Linked DNA regions of Homo sapiens: regions 1 and 2 are each linked to region 3. The links are contacts of gene promoters, found by promoter capture Hi-C in blood cells and fetal thymus (Javierre and others, 2016). All regions are on one chromosome and are shown on one strand. Each heading gives the region's core, a stretch centred on a gene start or on the middle of the fragment in contact. The rest is flanking DNA. Distances are from core to core; before and after follow the strand shown.

Region 1 (2,700 bases), core at 146-2,645, 980 kb after region 3:
AGTAGAGAGCTGGGCAGAGGTCCAGGGCACCAAGGCCAGTGAAGGGTGGAGAGAACCTGTTTACCATTGTGCACTGACCCAGCACTAGAAGGAGCAGAGCCAGGGAATTCCTCATGGGAAAGACAGGCAGCCCCAGAATTAGCCTGCATTGGGAAGGAGGGAGAGTGAAGCAAGCCAGACTCTCTCACTCAGACAGGGAGCCTGGACACTGCCAGCCGGCTCCTAGGCAGGGGTGGCCGGGCCCCAGAAGGGAGTGCCAGGCTGCTGCAGACCCTCTTCCTTTTTCCTACCAACTCACAGAGTGTGTGGCGTCAGGCAGACCGCTTACCTTCTGGGGAGGGGATGGCCTCACTGCATGATCTCATAGGTTTCCCAGTCCTGACAGCCATTTGCACACCACCAGCCTACCCTCTCCTGCCTTTGGTTTCTCATCATCACTTCTTATGGAACTGGTCTAAAAGCCATTTATACCTTCATTCATTACCACCTCTTAGGGTAGTGAACTCCAGAGGTTGTTGCCTAGTATGCAAAACAGGTCAGCCTTTTGTTTGTCCTCACTTCACTTTCAGGCTCTGGGTGGAGAGGGAAACCCTCTGGATCGGTGATTGGCCATGCTCCCCCTGCACATCCACTTCCCAATTTTCCACACTTTGGTGGGACTTCCTCCAACTGCCTCCTCTCCATCCTGGAGACCCAAGTGTGAGGGGTTTTTTTCACGTTATTCACCCCTGCCTTTCTCGGCACAGAGGGTGATAAGAAGAGGGAAGGGAATGTGACAGGGATTGAAGCCATGGTATGAGCGGGGGACTTTATATGTCTTGTATAGTTTAGTGCTCAGGTGGCAGCCTCTACTTCCAGGCTATGTAACCTTGGGCATATTACTCCACTGTGCTGAATCTTAGTGTTCTTGTCTATTAAATGGAGATAATTAAAGCTATTTCCTTGGGGGATTGTGTGCCTGTGTAGTGCTTGGCAGAGCTAGTACACGGCCAGCGCATGAAAGTGTCAGCTCTTAATTGCCTCACATCATGTTTACCAATGTTCTCTGAGGAGGTGGCATTCCTCCTGGGTTACAGATGAGGAACTGGAAGCTCAGAGAGCAAAGCAGCCAGCCCTGTTTCACACAGCTGTAAAGCGGTAGAGCTTGGATCAGCGGCCAGGAGTTAGAATTTGTTTACCATTGAGCAAATTAAGTAATCTCTCAGAGCCTCAATTGCTTCATGAGTAAAATGGTGGTAATCATGCCCTGCCTTCCTCAAAGGCCTGTGTATGGGGACCAGTCAGATGAGAAAAGAGATGTGAAATTGCTAGTTAAGCCGCAAATACCAGTCACCTAATAGCTACCATTTGCTGGCCACCCACCAGGCTGGGCCCTTGTACACATTTATTCCTCATTGCAGCCCTATAAGAGATGAGGTGTGCGTTATGACCCCACTGAAAGATGAAGAAGTTGTCACTTTTTGCACATGGTCTCCCAGTTAGTAGATGGCAGAACTGGAGTACCTAGCTCAGCTAACTTCAAGTCCCCACTCTATTTATTCTCCCCTACACCCCACCTGGTTTCCCCTATGGGTGAGAGGAGGATCAGTCCTGTGGTCTGTGACCTCAGACTTTCTGCTTAGGGTGTATTTCTCTTTGTTTGGGCTGGTTCAGGGAGTGAGGCTTGGAGGAGGGTTTAGACGGGTTCCTTGGTATCAAGATTTATCTCCCACGACAGGCTAGGATAAGGAGGTGATGAGCATGGACACTGCCCTTGCTGAACCTGCCTAGCCAGAGGTGCTGAGATGTGCTTGGGCAGAAAGCAGATGTCTAGAAGGACAAGGGAAGAGAGAACCCCAGCCCTTGGTCTCAGTAGCCTGGGAAGCAGTCTTGTCCTTCTGAACTTTTGGAAGCCTCAAGCCTCTGGGTTTTGGGAGAACGCTAGGAAACTGGGAACCTACAGAGAATGGGGTCAGCAGAGTGTCACTGCTGCCTTGGACCATGACGTGGCACAGCATGGCTAAGCCTGTTCCAGTCCAGGAGCCTGACAAGATCTGTGATTAGGTGCCACCTTTGTCTCCTCTGAGCCTTTCCTCCTCAGAAGCTGGGGTTGCCAGCAAATGGCAGATTGCCCTGGCCGGGTGCGGTGGCTCATGCCTGTCATCCCAGCACTTTGGGAGGCTGAGGCGGGTGGATCACATAGTCAAGAGATTGAGACCATCCTGGCCAACATGGTGAAACCCCGTCTCTACTAAAAATACAAAAATTAGCTGGGTGTGGTGGTGCCCCAGCTACTTGGGATGCTGAAGCAAGAGAATCACTTAAACCCGGGAGGTGGAGGTTGCAGTGAGCTGAGATCATGCCACTGCACTCCAGCCTGGGCGACAGAGCAAGACTCCGTCTCAAAAAAAAAAAAATGGCAGATTACCCAGGCTTACCATCTGCACCTGAGGTTGTGCTGGCAAACCATCCCATCCAGTGTATTGGTGTCTCTGAGCATTGCTAGGTACGGGCAGGCCACTCACTGGGGCAGTCACAACACTGGAGGAGGGGGTTAGACTGTCTCCAGTGGCTTGGGCGCCAGAGATGGAGCCACACAGAAGCATCTGGAGAAGGGCCTGATTTCCCCACAGCCTTCCCCAGGGAACTGGAAATAGCATATAGGTCACTGTGACAGAGGGGAAGCCCTGGGTCAGCTACTTACTTATTAGCTTTGTGACT
Region 2 (2,700 bases), core at 1-2,500, 850 kb after region 3:
GGATCCCACAGCCAGCCACCACCTGTAACCCTACGTGGCTCTGCAGCAGTTGCAGGGACAGGCTGACAGCCACGGTGCCCTTGTGGAGCAGCAAAGCCAGGCGCAGCTCCGCGGCCCAAGCCCCGTCTCACTGCAACCCCTTGAACACTGAGTATAGAGCCAGGGAGAAGACCAGTACATGGGCACGCAGAGCTGAGGGGGCTGCTGGGGCTCCACTCACCTGTGGGACCCCTGGCCCTTCGTGAAGATTGGCCTTTTGAGGTATCTTTTTTTTTTTCTTTTTTGAGACAGAGTTTCTCTCTCGTCGCTCAGGCTGGAGTTCAATGGCACGATCTCGGCTCACTGCAACCTCCGCCTCCTGGGTTCAAGCAATTCTCCTGCCTCAGCCTCCTGAGTAGCTGGGATTACAGATGCCCATCACCACGCCCAGCTAGCTTTTGTATTTTTAGTAGAGACAAAGGTTTCACCATGTTGGCCAGGCTGGTCTCAAACTCCTGACCTCAGGTGATCCACCCACCTCGGCTTCCCAAAGTGCTGGGATTACAGGTGTGAGCCATCACGCCCGGGCTTTTTTGAGGTATCTTTTCAGGCTTTTTGTATGTCTGACACCTATGGTTCCACCTGGACCTGCCAACTGCTCCTGTGGCCTCACCCAGAAGTGACTCAGCATACAGGATCATTTCCCACACCCCTATCATTGCACCCCCAACCAGTCAGCAGCAGGCCCCATTGCCTAGCCACCCCCGCCACCCTTCCCTTAAACTACCTTTGAAAAACCCTAGCCCCTAAATGCTCCAAGAGACTAATTTGAATAATAAAAAAACTCCAGTCTCAGTGGCTCCTGCTTGTAATCCCAGCACTTTGGGAGGTCAAGGCAGAAGGATCACCTGAGGTCAGGAGTTCAAGACCAGCCTGGCCAACATGGTGAAACCCCATTTCTACTAAAAATACAAAAATTAGCCAGACCTGGTGGCGCATGCCTGTAGTCCCAGCTACTTAGGAGGTTGAGACAGGAGAATGGGTTGAACCTGGGAGGAGGAGGTTGCAGTGAGCCGAGATCACGCCACTGCACTCCAGCCTGGGCGACAGAGCAAGCCTTCATCTCAAAAGAAAAACCAAAACAAACAAACAAAAAACAACTCTGGTCTCCTGTTCAGCCATTTCTGCATAAATTAAACTCTTTCTCCACTGCAATTCCCCTGCCTTGATAACCCACTTGGCGGTTACAAGAGGAGCTTCCTAAGCCAGTTAGAGGGGGTCAGAGGTCACCTTGGGTTGGGGAGCAGGAACTGAGGGAGGAGGGAGCTGTAATCAGGGTAGGGCTGGTGAACCTGCAGGACGGGCTGGGGGAAAGGCATGGAAGGGAGTGTCCCAATAGGAGGGAACAGTATATGAGAAAGCCTGGGCAGGAGAAACACCAGATCTAAGGACCCAAAAAGGACAGAATGGCTGAAATGAAGATTTGGGGTGGGGCAGTGAGAAGGGTGTGTATGATAGGGGCGTTATCCAGATCACCAAGGGCCCTGAGAGCCACTGTGAGGGTCTGGACTCTGTTCTGAACATTGTAAGAAGTGGTTGGCCAGAGGGAACATTTGGAGAGGAACAAGCTAGAGGCTGCTACCATGATATATGTCTAGAGGGGACAGATAGGAGATGTGGTGCTAGAGTACTGGGGACAGAAGCCACAGGAATGAGCGGGAGCAGCCAGGGTAGAGAGAGGAGGGCCTGAGCCCAGGCTCTTAGCACTGGGGTGACAGCCAGAGAGGTAGAAAGGAATCTGGAGGGAGAGCTCCAGATAGCCAGGAGTCAGTCACAGCTGAGGCTGGCTTTCCCTTCTCCCTACCAGGCAGTTTTGGGGAGGGAATAACAGACCAGGCTTGAGTTTTACCTGTGACCATATATGCTGGGAGGCCTTTGCCAGGTCACTTGCCTTCTCTGATTCTTAGAATGTAAGTCTGGAATGGGGAGCAGTTTATCTACTATGAAAGGGAAATAAATCTGGGGACCTCAAAATCATTAAGCCAAAGGGAAAAGACAAGCTGGGAACTGCATCAGGCAAACTTGCCTCCCATTTTATTCCTAAATAAGATAGCTACAAGGATTAAAAAGCTACATACCTCATGCACATTTTGCCCACAAGGAAATTCCTTGTAGGCCTCAAGATTTTTACCCTAAAACAGTTCTGTTGGATTTCACCCTGGCAATGTAAATGAATAGCTGATCTTCACAGGTGCAGGACAAAGGACAGAACTCAAAGTCATCCCTCTGCTCACCTGAGACAAATGCATCTGATTGCTTCCTCTGCCCTTATTGTTTATGTAAAAATGCAGCTTCACTGAGCCAGACTAAAGCATAAGTGACTATTCCTCTACCCGCCACCCCGGCTCACATGTAAATTGTTATTCAGTGAAAGGCTGATAAGGATCCAAAAGAACACAAACTTTTATCTCTTATCGACCCATGACCTGGAAGCCCCCACCCCACTTCAAGTTGTCCTGCCTTTCCAGACCAAACCCATGTACATTTTACACACATTGATCGATGTCTCATGTCTCCCTAAAGTGTATAAAACCAAGCTGTGCCCCAACCATCTTGGGCACATGGCATCAGGGTGAGGCTGTCACAGGTGCATCCTTAACCTTGGAAAAATAAACTTTCTAAATTGATTGAGACCTGTCTCAGATACTTTTGGTTCACACT
Region 3 (2,700 bases), core at 154-2,653:
CCATTTCTATTTTGGGATCTGACTGAGTCACAAGGTAGTCTTGACGAATCACTCTGCTCTATCTCTCAGTTTACTGAGGCTGCCTGGGAACTTGAGCTGTCAGCCAAACAGGAAGAAGGGCCCTTCTGCCTACTCCAAAAGGCCTCAGTCAAATGGATATGGTGAGATTTAATGATGGATATAAATTACAGCAAATGGATTTCCTATAGGGTGAGGGAAAAAAAAAAAAGCAAACATTTTACTTAAATTCCTCTATACAATTTAGGGCTGGCAGAAAGGGTAGACTATTACAATGTAGCTGAGCAAATTTTTCCATGTTTGCATAACATGTGTTTTCAACTAAAGATACTCCTTCTATAGTCCTACTATATACAACACCCCAAAAAACCTCAAATGTAAGAAAAAGCAATGTGACAGATTTGACCCTGGCCAAGTTACACTGTTTTTTTTTTTTTTTTTTTTTTTTTTTTTTTTTAAGTGTCAGTGTTCATAAAGGCCCTTTTTCTTTTTCAAGGATGGGTATAAAGTGTTACTCGGCCGAACGCGGTGGCTCACACCTGTAATTCCAACACTTTGGGAGGCCGAGGCAGGTGGATTACGAGGTCAGGAGTTCAAGACCAGTCTGGCCAACACAGTGAAACCCCCGTCTCTATTAAAAATACAAAAAATTAGCTGGGTTGTGGTGGTGTGCCCCTGTCACAAGGTAGTCTTGACGAATCACTCTGCTCTCTCTCTCAGTTTACTGAGGCTGCCTGGGAGCTGTCAGCCAAACAGGAAGAAGGGCCCTTCTGCCTAACTCCAAAAGGCCTAAGTCAAATGGATATGGTGAGATTTAATGATGGATATAAATTACAGCAAATGGATTTCCTATAGAGTGAGGGAAAAAAAAAATCCAGCTACTCCGGAGACTGAGGCAGAATTGCGAGAACCCGGCAGGTGGTTGCAGTGAGCCGAGATTGTGCCATTGCACTCCAGCCCGGGCGACAGTGTGAAACTCTGTCTCAAAAAGAAAAGAAAAGAAAAAAAAAAAAACTATTACTCCACTCCCCACCAGAAACTCTTATTTTTTCCCCCCTATGTGGTCATGAATTCCTCCTGGGTGCATAGCTCCCTAAGTTGTTCTGTGTTTTAGTGCTTATAATTTCCCACATCCCATGATGCCCCTTGATAGAATTATTTTTTCTGTACTCACACAAATGGAAACAGAAGAGATGAAAAACCCTGGGGATGCGGCCTCGCAGGTCTCAAACTGATCGGCTGCTAAGCACAACCTGCATATCTCTTGGCTGAGTTCCTTTCTTGGCTCAGTTAGATTTTGCATGACCTAGGAGGCTTAGGACCCAGGGGGCGCCTTTCAGCTGAAAAACAGCTCGCGCTGCAGCAAGCTAGCTGGGAAGCTCCCAGTTCTAAAGAGAGGCTGTTTACCAGAACAGCATAACAAGGGCAGGTCTGACTGCAAGGCTGGGACTGGGAGGCAGAGCCGCCGCCAAGGGGGCCTCGGTTAAACACTGGTCGTTCAATCACCTGCAAGACGAAGGAGGCAAGGATGCTGTTGGCCTGGGTACAAGCATTCCTCGTCAGCAACATGCTCCTAGCAGAAGCCTATGGATCTGGAGGTGAGATTACAATCTTTCCTTTCCGCAGCAACTTCATGAAACAGAAGGGGTAAAGCCCCCTATTTCCCAAACAGGGCCAGGATGACAGGAAACGAAGCGTTTAGCCGGTTTCTGTTGTCCCGTGAAAGCTTTTCCACCCCTCCTTTCCTTGTCAGGGGCTTGCAGCTCCATCTTTGCCATTAAGAACAAAGGCAAGAAGCCACTTTCTCTCTGCCTTTCCTTGCTCATGAGTGGATGGAGCTTGGGGGTTCATCTCCCCTACTCCCCAAGTCCTGTTCTTTCTAAGCCCTTTGCATGGTGTGGTCCTCCTTCCCCAGCCTCCTTCTGTGGTTCTCCTGCAGAGGGGAGTGGGAGCTTGGAGTCTCATCCAGTCAGCGATGAGGCCGGTTTCCTCCGTTTGAGGCTGTCTTGAATCTTTTGCCTGACGGAGTCAAGGCTCCTGGAGAATTCTCCTGGGAGGGAGTATTTGCCTTTTAAACGGGCAGAAGGTGGCCGTATCCGTGAAGGAGGAAACACCGGAGTTTATGTAACGTGGCCATTACAACACAGGGACAAATGTCACGTCTGGGCGCCCCCCGTCCCAAAACTCCCAGCTCCTCAAAGGGACCCTAAGCCAGGCCTCCTCCTCTCCATCTCCTCCTCCAAAGTGGTCACAAGTTCAAGAGTAACAACGCTTTGCACTTCTGCAGCGCTTTCCAGGTTTCAAAAATAAATAAAACCTAACAGTCTCTGAGCGTTGACTGGGGGACAGGCACAGGCTGGGGGCTTCACACCCTGAGGTGTGCGTGGAGTTGGGGGGGGGGGGTGCGTGGGGCGTGGGGGTGTTGCCACGAGAGGAGAGGGAGGCCCAGCAGGGCCCGGGGTCCCCTAACCAGGCTGAGGTTCAGCCCGGGTGGTCCCGGCTCCCCTGTCCGCCACGCTGGGCGTCTTCCGTTCGCTGCCCGCTATTCTGTGTCCGGGGGCTTCTTTTCCTCACAGGCTGTTTCTGGGACAACGGCCACCTGTACCGGGAGGACCAGACCTCCCCCGCGCCGGGCCTCCGCTGCCTCAACTGGCTGGACGCGCAGAGCGGGCTGGCCTCGGC

What was found. Contacts are between HindIII fragments. The CHiCAGO score rates a contact against its expected background, and 5 or more counts as called.
Region 1: a contact is called between a fragment that was not itself captured here and the fragment with the promoter of PIK3IP1 in region 3, in 1 of 17 cell types (non-activated CD4 T cells). The highest score is 11.5, in non-activated CD4 T cells.
Region 2: a contact is called between a fragment that was not itself captured here and the fragment with the promoter of PIK3IP1 in region 3, in 1 of 17 cell types (naive CD8 T cells). The highest score is 5.9, in naive CD8 T cells.

What each region holds. Positions count from the first base shown.
Region 1 is chr22:30,308,938-30,311,637 of GRCh38, reverse strand. All of the region lies in intron 1 of TBC1D10A (TBC1 domain family member 10A), which reads left to right. Among named protein-coding and RNA genes, the nearest start is that of TBC1D10A, 17 kb to the left of the region's middle. RefSeq lists an enhancer at 1,673-1,722. The HindIII fragment of the contact is 5,585 bases long and covers 1-2,700 here.
Region 2 is chr22:30,437,381-30,440,080 of GRCh38, reverse strand. It overlaps the pseudogene SLC39A1P1. Among named protein-coding and RNA genes, the nearest start is that of MTFP1, 13 kb to the right of the region's middle. The HindIII fragment of the contact is 3,153 bases long and covers 1-2,700 here.
Region 3 is chr22:31,291,191-31,293,890 of GRCh38, reverse strand. It overlaps PIK3IP1 (phosphoinositide-3-kinase interacting protein 1), which reads left to right and starts at 1,403. Exons shown (of 6, transcript NM_052880.5): 1 at 1,403-1,616; 2 at 2,595-2,700. The coding sequence starts at 1,547. It overlaps LOC105372997 (a long non-coding RNA gene), which reads left to right. Exons shown (of 4, transcript XR_001755493.3): 3 at 70-161; 4 at 739-947. RefSeq lists an enhancer at 2,021-2,070 and a silencer at 2,631-2,700. The HindIII fragment of the contact is 2,122 bases long and covers 1-1,746 here.